Linked DNA regions of Homo sapiens: all the other regions are linked to region 1. The links are contacts of gene promoters, found by promoter capture Hi-C in blood cells and fetal thymus (Javierre and others, 2016). All regions are on one chromosome and are shown on one strand. The core of a region is centred on a gene start or on the middle of the fragment in contact, and the rest is flanking DNA. Distances in the headings are between cores, read along the strand shown. Region 1 holds the start of RINT1 (RAD50 interactor 1). Region 2 holds the start of PIK3CG (phosphatidylinositol-4,5-bisphosphate 3-kinase catalytic subunit gamma). Region 3 holds the start of CCDC71L (coiled-coil domain containing 71 like).

Region 1 (3,682 bases), core at 856-3,355:
CCTGAGGTCAGGAGTTCAAGACCAGCCTAACCAAAATGGTGAAACCCTGCCTCTACTAAAAATACAAAAATTAGCCGGGTGTTTGGCGGGCACCAGTAATCCCAGCTACTGAGGAGGCCGAGGCAGGGGAATTACTTGAACTCAGAGGCGGAGCTTGCAGTAAGGCGAGATCGCGCCACTGCACTCCAGCCTGAGAGACAGAGTGAGACTAAGTCTCAAAAAAAAAAAAAATTACACCCTTGATGTGTAACCATTCAAATGTGGCATAGTACATTCTTAGTGAAATGACATTCTTCAAAATGACACACCGGTGGTTTGGGAGGTTTTTATGTGTCTCCTTTTCTATTTTTTGTAAAGAGCACTCCTAACTGCAAAGCAGTTTGAGCTGTGGAAAGAGGAACAAGGTCAAAGTCCTTGATATGATAGTCTACATCTATTATTTTATTAAAATGACAGCTCAGTAGGCATCAGACTACTTTCCAGGCATCTGAATGAGGCAAAGGTGGAAAATGGAAAGGGAAGGGTTTAACTGAGAGATACAAGGCACTCTGAAATCCTTCAAGAAAAAGGAGCTGAGATGTGGCAGTTATGACAGTCATGTGCTATGGACTGCTCAGAGCCTTCTTTCTGAGGCAGATTCTATCAGCCGCTAATGTTAAGGGCAAATCTTACTCCTAAGGGCCATGTGCTAATGTGGGCACCGTTTTTCTTACTGCTACACATTCCCAACTGTTTGCCACAGTCAAAAGAACCAAAAATCCCAATAGCAGAGCTATCACATGCTTTTCCCCTTCCTCTCCCAAAAAATGTCACTTCAAAGGTCCCTAAAGAGCCCTTGATTTGCAATAACCTGCCATCAAAGTAAAATGGCAAAAGTCCACAACCCTGACATATACTCCCGTACTAGGGAGGAAATGGTGGTACTGACCTTTTCCCCCTTTCCTGTCCAGTCCAAGATCCAGAACCCAAGTTATCCGTTGTGCTCTTGCCAGAGCAATTTTAAATTGCCAATTTACTGAAGGTGAACTAAACAACTGTCATTTGCCTCCTTTGAACCCAATTAGGGTGGTGGTCGTCTGTCCTAGATCATGGGCCCCTCCAAATTCCTGATGCTTAGTAAGTTGATGTTTCATTAAAATGACAGGCAGGCCCCAATTATTCTGAGTACTGTATGATAGGCAGACTTCCAGCGAAAACACTCTAGTCCCTGTACTAGGTATGGATCGGGAAGTGCTCTTCTCCAAAGCATCCCATATTTTACAATTTTAGAAAGACAAAAATATGTGTATCATGGTCATCAGTATTACCATATAAGCATATTGTGCAGAAAACGGTACTGCATCTAAAAGATAGGCAAAGAACCTTTCTATATTGCAGACCCTGGAAGGCTGAGTTTGGGCGGGAAGAAAAAGCTAAGGTGTTTGGAGCTGGCTTACTTTTCTCCTCGAGGTTCTTCCTTTCGTCACCACTTTCAGAGCAGCACTAGAAGAAGAACAGATGTGACAAGCACATTAAGATTAAAGTCGTGGATGGAAAGCATACGGGGCTCCCAAAGGGCACCCACTGGAGGCAAGAGAGGTTCCAGACGCTCTCCCACTTTCTGAGCGACCAGGGCCGTCCGAATCAGGTACCTCAAAGTGCCACTGTCCTGGTGCCACCGCCACCTTCCCAGGAGGTGTGTGTCACCTCCGCAGGACCTGGAGTTACCTTGCCTGCTCACTAGAGCCACCTCCCTAGAGAAATCTGTCATCTCACCAGGGCCGCCAAAGCCACTTCACGGGGACTACCGCCTCCTCTAGGAGGTCTTACAAGGGCCTCTAATCTAAGCCGCAGGAAGCACCTTCACAAGCTTACAGGGCCACCGCACCGGGACTATCTCCCCCGGGAGGTCTGTGCCACCTCAATGGGCCACCAATGTCCCCTCCCAGGGACGCCAGGGCCGTCTCACCGGGGCTGCAGGAGAGGCGCCGATCTCGCCGGCTGGTAGCATCTCGCCTCCGCGCGAGTCCTCGGCTCCATTCGCAGCCAGCGTGGCCTGTGGAGTCTGGCTAAGGCCAGCGACACACTCACTACCCAGCCTCGGAGGCCGTAGGACTGAGTGCCACAGCGACTTCCTCTCGATGTCTCACTGGTTTCTTCCTCTCAGCCCAGAGAGGCCCTGCCCGTGCAGCCGCCGGCCGTGCTCTGTTCCTCCCCCTCCTGACCGGAGGTCGGAACGGCCACTCAGGAAGCGGGCACCCTCCCCTATGGAGCTCCAGAGAAGGGATTCGCTCACTCCACCGCGGTAAAAGTCCCCTCCACTTTATTGAAGCTCTTAATGATGGAACTTTAAGATATCCCTCTCCCAACGCCTTAAATTCAATATGAATAATTTAAATTTATATTTTAGGCAATATCCAGATGTTCTGAGAGTGTGGGGGGCTTGTTGACTAGGAGCTTCGGTGCAGGGTTATTTGGTTCGAATATTTAGTTGGGGGTTTCCAATGAATGTCAGTATCTTTAGATATTTCTTTTAACGTTGGTCAGAGTCCCTAGAGATGAGCTTCTGATTTCCTGCCTAGAGGGTGTAGAGGTGGTTATAAGCGTTCTGGGAGCTGAATGAAGAGAACAGAGCATCTAACATGTGTTTCGCCCAAAACCCTGTCTTTTACCAGGGAGGAGGAAAGGGAGCTACCTAGCAGCAAGGGTTGTGTAGAGGACCTGTGGACTTGACAGCCTCTTAAACAAACTAACACGGAAGGAGTACCATAGAGACCATAACAAACAAGGGGGGGGGAAAGCAACCCTCAGAGGAAAAAGAAACCACACGGTGAGAAGAAAAATCAAATACATGTGCACAGAGATATATAATCGAGCTACAAATTACTATTGCAAGCATAAAACAAGGATGGCTGGGCGCTGTGGCTCACGCCTGTAATCCCAGCACTTTGGGAGGCCGAGGCAGGCAGATTACGAGGTCAGGAGATCGAGACCATCCTGGCTAACATGGTGAAACCCCGTCTCTACTAAAAATACAAAAAATTAGCCAGGCGTGGTGGTGGGCGCCTGTAGTCCCAGCTACTCAGGAGGCTGAGGCAGGAGAATGGCGTGAACCCGGGAGGTGGAGCGTGCAGTGAGCAGAGACCGCACCACTGCACTCTAGCCTGGACGACAGAGCAAGACTCCGTCTCATTTAAAAAAAAAAAAAAAAACAAGGATACTATTTTTTAAATTACCTATTATGGGAACATAATCGTATATATTTATAGTGTACATGTGTGTTTGTTTTTTTTTTGCTCAGGCTGGGGTGCAATGGCGTTATCTCTGCTCGCAGCAACCTCCGCCTCCCAGGTTCAAGCGATTCGCCTGCCTCAGCCTCCCAAGTAGCTGGGATTACAGGCATGCACCACCACGCCCGTCTAATTTTGTATTTTTAGTAGAGACGATGTTTCTCCATGTTAGTCAGGCTGGTCTCGAACTCCCGGCCTCGGGTGAACTGCCCGCCTTGGCGTACCAAAGTGCTGGGATTACAGGTGTGAGCCACTGCGCCCGGCCTTTTTTTCTGGGGCGGGGCGGGGGACGGGTAAAGAAATTTTAATGAGGATTCAAGGTTTGTAGGGAAGACACAGAGGACCGGCGCTCAGCCCCAGCCTCCTCACGTGTACATGGCTCCATGGAGGTTCTCCAGTCGGTTCTGCTGCTG
Region 2 (3,682 bases), core at 605-3,104, 1.3 Mb before region 1:
ACATTATAATGGCTCAGAATGGACATTGTTCTTAAACATACTGAAACATATAGATTACTAAAATAGTACAGTTAAGGTTCAAGTCCCAGTTTACAAGGTGCAACACGAGATGCCAAAAAATCTCACTTTGAAAACAGGCCTTTAACTTACTTCCTCTTTGTTAAGTCTCACACTTCTTGGAACCCAGACACCTCACCCAGCCTTGCTTCACGTTGCCTGTTTTCAAACTGCCTGGACCTAGGATCTACTCCCTAATAAATTTCCTGCCTCTTGGTTTCATTTTTTCTTTCTAATTAGGAAAGCAAGTCATTTCATTTGTAAAGCTAAAACATATCGGAATTAGTAAAGTTACAGTCAAAACCATTTGCAGATATGTAAAATTTTGAATCATGGAATTTGTCAGCATTCTGGCTGTCACTGCTATATTAGGGCAGTATCTTAGAAGAGTCACCCAAGGCTGTACTCTCCCAATAGGAACATTTAGGTAATTTTAACATTGTTTAATTAATTAATTAAAATTCATTTGATCTGTCTCTACTTAATAATGGAGGAGCTACAGGATGGAAGGCAGGATTTCTGGACTCCAGTGACCTTCTGTTAAGACCCCCAATCATTTAACTTCTTTTTTGCTCTAATATTTTCATTTTTGTAACACAAATTCACAAATTTATTCTCATTAACCTACTCACTCTTTCCACAAAATTCAGTAAGTACCTACCCTTCACAAAGCACTTATGTATAAATAGGACATACTGCAATAGGAAATCCTTCAAATAATAATTGAAATTTGAAAGGTATTAACACTGAAAGATTAGGTATTTTGCTTTCAATGTTTAGTATCACTACATTGTAATACATTATATTCTAAACGAATCAATTATTGAAACAAAAAATTAATGTTTCAGAAAATATCGTTTACTCTCTTAAATAACTAATGTTAGACTTAAAACTACATTATTTCCTTAAGAAATAGTGGAGCATTTGATGTATACCAAAAAGGAGAGCTTGATAAGAAGATAAGAAAGACAAATTTCATTTGATCCAAACTTATGTTCAAATCTTGGCTTAACTTTTAAAACCAATATTCCCTCTCTTAAAATATGAAGTTATACTTAGTAAGTGAAACCAACTGTCCCAAAGAACTGTCTCTTGTGGCTTAAAACATTCATTTTGGTCTTTTGCTACATTATAGAATAACTAACAAAGAAGAGAACTGTAAGATACATTGATATTGACACTAACTTGAAATAAAACATGTCCAAATTTAGGCAGCATATAAATACACAGCAATAACTTCTGCCTCAGTGATACCAAACGATCTTATAAGATGCAGAGGAAAACAGGCTGACTAATACTCACTGGTTTCCTTCATGGTTGAGGCTATGAAGCTTTCCCCTTTTATGAGAAGATGTTGGAAACACTGTAAGTACAGTAATCTTGAAGCATGCACTTGTAGGAATATGAAGCCTGGCTGCCGTGCCCTCCCTTTTCCTCCCAAAACAAAAACAAAAATGTGATGCACCTGCAAAACTATTGCCGGAACGTTGTAGATATCCACAATACAGGTTGGACTAGACAATGAAACACAGACATTCGGTGGTAGTATCATCTCAAGAACCGACAACAGTTTCAGATAATCTAGCCGAGAAGGAAGTGCCACTATTCCGAGTCAGACCCCACAAAGAGCAAAAAATAGAAGGAAGCAATACCTGATAAAGCAGCGGAGGCGATGATGCTGAAGGATCATTTGTTTAATTTTTGAAAACAAAACAAATTCAAACCTACCCAGTGTGCGTCTAAATTCTTCCGCTTTTCTGGGGCTCCCTTCATATCCAGATGCAGAGGAAGTGTTGCAGTTACCAGGAAGGAAGTTTTAACCAAGTTGATTATACGTGTGATTGCTCATTTTAAAAGTGTCAGAAATGCATTTCCTGTTTTAGCATAGAGAGGGTAGGAGTATGAGACTGAGCAATGTTTACCATGGTTTTTCTTTTCTTTTTTTTTTCTCTTTGAACTAATTTTTCAAAAATTGTGATACTGAGACAAAATGACATAAATCCAAACCAAAATTACCCATTATGAGACATAAACATATGAAATATCTTTGTAGCTAGTTCTAAGAGCCACAGTATTAGGTATCCTATTAGGAAGACTTTTACCAGTCAAATTAAACTCATTCCCCTCCTGGGAATTCAAAAGAATCCTTGTTCGCACATGCTAACTGAGGGGTGGGGGAAGAGAAACCTAGTCATCTTGAGGACTAAGTTATCAAGCTGAAAATTTTTAAAGGCATGGTCTGCAAGCTCACTTCCTTAGCTTGGTGAGAGCTTTCTCTATTTTTTCAGAGCATTTGGGGCCTAAAATATCACTGGCTCAAACTGAAAGCACTGCAGCATGTGCATGTGTGTATATAAATGTGACATACTGCAGTAAGTAACCCTTCAAATAATGGTTGAAATGCTAAAAGTATTAAAATTGAAAGATGAATAAAAAGGTATTTTGATTTTAATACTAAGTACCACTACATTGTAACACATTATATTCCAAACAAGGATCAACTATTGAAACAAAAATTAATGCTTCAGAAAATATCCTGTGTTGAGGATGGAGCCTTACTGTCAGCAATGACTGATTAATTAACTGTAGACAAAACAGAAGGAGGTTGCCTGTTATCATGGGGAAATTGGGGAGCTGAACACTGTTACAGCATCAGGCAGATTCCATCCTGGGAGGTGGCCCCTGATTCCTATGGGAGTAGAGAATGCATAGAAAAGCCATCCTGAATCATTTTTAGAGTAGCGTTGTATCTTCCAGGTGACCTCAGTTCTTTCTAGAACCTCCAAGCATCCTGAACCAGCGCCCCCTCCCTCCATCTCAGAATTCCCTATGCTAGAGTTCATCCTCCAATCGGGGTGTTGAGGGACTCCAGCTGAGCTTCAAGGGCAGCAGATAGAATGGAGTTGACCTCACAAGTCTCTTGGAGGTATGTAATTAAGAGTTCCTCTGAATTACTCTGATATTGAGATAAATGATTGATTTGACTTATTTCCTTTTACATATGCCTCTTGGGTTTTAACTTTTAAATAGCACTCTAATAGTTGACATCAGCAGGCAAATAATTTAATTCAAAGGCTGCCTCCCAAATATTTAGAGGGGTCTTATCAGCTTCTCAAAGTATATTCCTATATAGGAATACTCCCTTAGGAGGCTGGCAGCTTTAGAAGCACCAAGGCTAGCTTTCTTGGTTGGTCCTGAGGGAAGATCAACACACTGTAGCCACCAAGCCATGATGTGAGAGCTTGCCAAGCTGTGTTTTACCCAGAGTGTGTGGGAGGGTTCCTGGGGGTGGGTGGAGTGGGAGGAGGTTTGAGGGTGGGAGGGCTGACCTCAGAGGGACCATGAGCTTGGCCAGCCCTGTTCCCCAGACCATTCAATAGATCCCTTCCCTGTCCTGGCTCAGTCACTTCCAGGGGGCCAAGTCCCAATCTGGCACTGCACATACACACACACATGCCACATTATTCCAGAAACACGAGACTCAGCCTCTTGGCCCTGCCTGCTTCTGAAGGAACTATTAAGCTAAGTTTGATTAGGCAAAGGATTTTCTGTTTTATGACTAAACTGGCAAATATGTCAGGTTTATTGGTGGCTTGAGATTAAAAGTACCCTGCTCTTCCCCAAA
Region 3 (3,682 bases), core at 813-3,312, 1.1 Mb before region 1:
ATATTTATGTGGTAAAGACCCTGAAGAATTTATAAAATGATGATTATCAAGGAAGGGAGGGGATTCCAATATGAAAAGCCAGGTCTACTTTAATCCTTGTTTTATCCTTGCTTTTCATTATGAAGCCCCCCTAACTTTCTCATGGCTCACTCTAGATTTTGGGTATTCCAATGGAAATTATTCAAATTTCACTTTACTATGTGTCTCAGAATTACGGAAAGAGCAAATTGTGATGTAAAGAGTTGTTGCTATATCATTCCTTTATAAGGATTTAGGAAGCTGGTATTTGGCTCTGTAATCTTGTTCTGAGATCAGAGTGTGCTTTTCTAGGAAAATGATTTTCTATTCAGAAAGTTACCATGATTTTGCTAGAGAGCTGGTTCCTGGTTAGATGTTTTATTTTTGCCATAAGCCCATTGTGTGGAGTTTTATTTTTGCCATAAACTCATTGTGTGGTGAGAGCTTTCAAGAATTTGACATCTCTGGTGTAGAGCTTTCAAATTATTTATTTTAGGTTTTATTGAAACTGAACAAACAAAATATTATTCATAAATCTATTATAAGACAGAGAAAAACTGCTCAATTCTGGGTGGGGTGGAAGTAGGAATAGGGGTACAGCTCTGTCCTTCGTCATTCTACTTATGCATAAAGCATGTTCTATTGAATTCCTTAGAGTCTGGACAGCACAGTTTGAAAAACCTTCAGTGAAATACAAAGATCACTAGATTAGAAATCGAAGGATTTAGAATCCCAGTTCTGCTATCAGCCAGCTGTGTTACTGAACCTCTATGGTACAGATTTCCTCACCTGTTAAATAAGGAGAATGAACTAGGTCTCTTTCAGGTCAAATATTTGAGGAAACCATTAGCAACTACATGTAAATCACAAAACTCCTATACTTTATTTGTTCACTACTGCAAAATAAGATGTTTCCTGGGTAAAATCCACATGCCCACCTCAAAGTTCTAAGTGTCAGGAGATTTTTTCTTTTAACCTTAAGAAATTTAAAGGAGTTCTGTGAAAATTGCAATATAAAATATCTAATTGTCCTGTTCTAAGCAGTTTCAACATTTCTGACTCTATTTGGGATAATCGGTGGTATTTCATTGATTCATTCGGCAAACACATTGAGTGTCCACTACCTGACAGGAACTGAGTTAGGTATAGAGGACAGAAAAGATGACTAAAGGATGTCCACTACTCTCCTCCCAATACAAAAGGTAATGTGTTTTGAACAATTTGTGTTTTTCAACGAAACCTTATCTGTTGTCTGCGATGATGCATCCTTTCTAAATGATAGGGGTGGCTTTGACATTTTAAAACTAAATGAAAAACGAATTGGCATCCATAAAGAACTGTGTATTTAAAACTATATTTTCTTTTCACAGAATGGCTTTATTGTAATAGATCTTTGATCAACTTGAGCAAAGAGTATTTAGTTTTATAGGGTATGACATGTTTTGCTTTCTGGATAAGCAGGGTCTCTCTTAAATATGAAGATGGCTCCAGTGTCCAGAGGGAGACTAAAATCTCTCAGCTGCCAGCCACGCACATTACCTGAATGATTCTGGATTACTACTGGCTTCTTGAGATGGGCTGGGGTCAAGACAGGGAAGAGTTTTGAATGAAGATGCCAGAAGAGGCCTTTGAGAGGGTGGATGGGAATTGCGAAAGGCCCATTTCCCCTAGACTTAAACCCAAATTCCCTAGCTGTGATGATACCAGGAACATCCTTCAGGGAAATCTCCCTTTGTTATCCACACTGGTAGAGCTCCCAGCTCAATCCACAACTGCACACCCCCTCACTCTAAGAGTCACTCTTCCCATGGTGTAGCCAACATCCACCCTCTTACTCTAGACGTGGCAGCCCTCCTAGATCCACCCAACCGTTGACTTACGTTCAAAGGCCATCACCCACCCCAGCACCATCTTCCAGGAACTGGCCTCTCCCCCATCAGTCCCCGCCCCTCTTCTGAGAGCACCCAATGGGTGGAGTCGGGGCTGCGGTGGGAGGGGCCTGAGGCGGGCACATTTAAAGAAAGGCAGCCGGCGAAAAGAGGCAAGAGAGGAGAAGAAAGAGAAACCAGGGGGGCGAGGCGCCGTCCAATGACAAAGCCCAGGGGTGGGCGCCGGCCGCCATCTTGTACCGGGCAGCAGGATATTCGCCCGCGTCCTCCGCCCTCGGAGGGGGAGGGGCGGCGGCGGAGGCGAGAAAAGTAGCGAGAGACGCCAGCAGCAGCCGCCGCCGCGGAGCCAACGCGGACTGGGACGGCGGCGGCAGTAGTGGGACCCGGCGAGCGTGAGTGGCCCGGAGCGGCCTTCGATGCGGCGCAGTATGAAGAGGCGGCGGCGCCGGCGCCCGGTCGCCCCGGCCACGGCCGCCCGGGGCGGCGACTTTAGGGCAGAAGACGGGGCTGGGTTGGAGGCGCGGGAGGAGAAGGTGGTGTACTCGCGGTCGCAACTGTCGCTGGCTGACAGCACCAAGGCGCTGGGCGACGCCTTCAAGCTCTTCATGCCCCGCAGCACGGAGTTCATGAGCTCGGACGCGGAGCTCTGGAGCTTCCTCTGCAGCCTCAAGCACCAGTTCTCCCCGCACATCCTGCGCAGCAAGGACGTCTACGGCTACTCCTCCTGCCGGGCCCTGGTACCCGACCCCCCGGGGCCCCCTACAGCCCGCGGCCAGGCGCGCCGGCCGGTTCCGCGCGCAGCGGCCAGGAGGAGGCGCCGCGGAGCCCGGGCGGCCGCTGCCCGCAGGAGGAAGCCCCGGCCGCCACCCCCACCGCCGCCGCCCCCCGAGGAGAGCTGCCCGGCCAAGCCCGTGGCCCCCGGGCCCTGCTTCGGGGGCCGCACCTTGGAGGAGATCTGGAGGGCGGCCACCCCGACGCTGACCACCTTCCCCACCATCCGCGTCGGCAGCGACGTGTGGGGCGAGCGCAGCCTGGCGGCAGCGCGGCGCAGGGCGCGCCAGGTCCTGCGAGTGAACCTGGAACCCATGGTGAGGCTCCGCCGCTTCCCGGTGCCCCGGGCATGAGGTGCGGCCTCCAGGGCGCCTCCTGCCGGCCCCGACCTTGGGACAGGCCTTCCGCCCGGAGGAATGAACAAGTGTCAGTCGAGTGTTTACAGATCCGGCCAGGACCCCGGCCCCCAATGCACTTTACGCGCGAAGAAGTTGCCGGATGGTTGTCCCTGTCCCGGGCCGCGGCGCGGTCGTCTTGGACGCTGGGGCAGGTGTGCCCTCTGCTGCCTCCCGTACCCGGCCTGCGGAGGGAGGGGACAGCTGGACCCGCAGGGGAGGTCCCTTTCTTCCTGACCACCGATTGAGACGTCTCCAGGACCTTAGGGGCAGATCCGTTTTCTCACTGTTGGACTCTACCTCACTGGTCTGGAAGTCCTCCGAAGACATTATTTTTCCAAAGGAATTTGGTTTCGTGCTTGTGTAATAAAGCCAGAATTTACTTGTTCTTTATCTCCCCCTTTTTCTATTTCACTGTCACCCCTCTTTGTGGACAGAAGTTCGAACATGTGGTGTTGCACTAGTTTGTGCTCAGGGTATTCTGAAGCCCACTCGTTTCCTAATTTTTACTGGATTCCAAAGCTTTGATCGAGGATATTTTTTAAGAGGTTCAAGCTTGTGACTGTTAGTAGTGCAAGGATTTGTATGGGCTCAGTGATTACAAACAAA

Evidence for each region. Contacts are between HindIII fragments. The CHiCAGO score rates a contact against its expected background, and 5 or more counts as called.
Region 2: the fragment with the promoter of PIK3CG here is called in contact with the fragment with the promoter of RINT1 in region 1 in 1 of 17 cell types (activated CD4 T cells); the score reaches 13.2 in activated CD4 T cells.
Region 3: the fragment with the promoter of CCDC71L here is called in contact with the fragment with the promoter of RINT1 in region 1 in 7 of 17 cell types (total CD8 T cells, non-activated CD4 T cells, naive CD8 T cells and 4 more); the score reaches 10.2 in total CD8 T cells.

Annotation. Positions count from the first base shown.
Region 1 is chr7:105,530,624-105,534,305 of GRCh38, reverse strand. It overlaps RINT1 (RAD50 interactor 1), which reads right to left and starts at 2,105. Exons shown (of 15, transcript NM_021930.6): 1 at 1,949-2,105; 2 at 1,437-1,482. The coding sequence starts at 1,990. It also overlaps the pseudogene LOC100131785. RefSeq lists enhancers at 1,333-1,909, 1,755-1,934, 2,025-2,324, 1,910-2,487, 2,775-2,824. The HindIII fragment of the contact is 4,822 bases long and covers 1,852-3,682 here.
Region 2 is chr7:106,863,454-106,867,135 of GRCh38, reverse strand. It overlaps PIK3CG (phosphatidylinositol-4,5-bisphosphate 3-kinase catalytic subunit gamma), which reads right to left and starts at 1,854. Exons shown (of 11, transcript NM_001282426.2): 1 at 1,710-1,854. RefSeq lists an enhancer at 1,683-1,782. The HindIII fragment of the contact is 4,956 bases long and covers 1,391-3,682 here.
Region 3 is chr7:106,659,538-106,663,219 of GRCh38, reverse strand. It overlaps CCDC71L (coiled-coil domain containing 71 like), which reads left to right and starts at 2,062. Exons shown (of 1, transcript NM_175884.6): 1 at 2,062-3,682. The coding sequence starts at 2,324. The coding sequence ends at 3,031. RefSeq lists a silencer at 2,619-2,888 and an enhancer at 3,239-3,288. The HindIII fragment of the contact is 5,408 bases long and covers 1-3,597 here.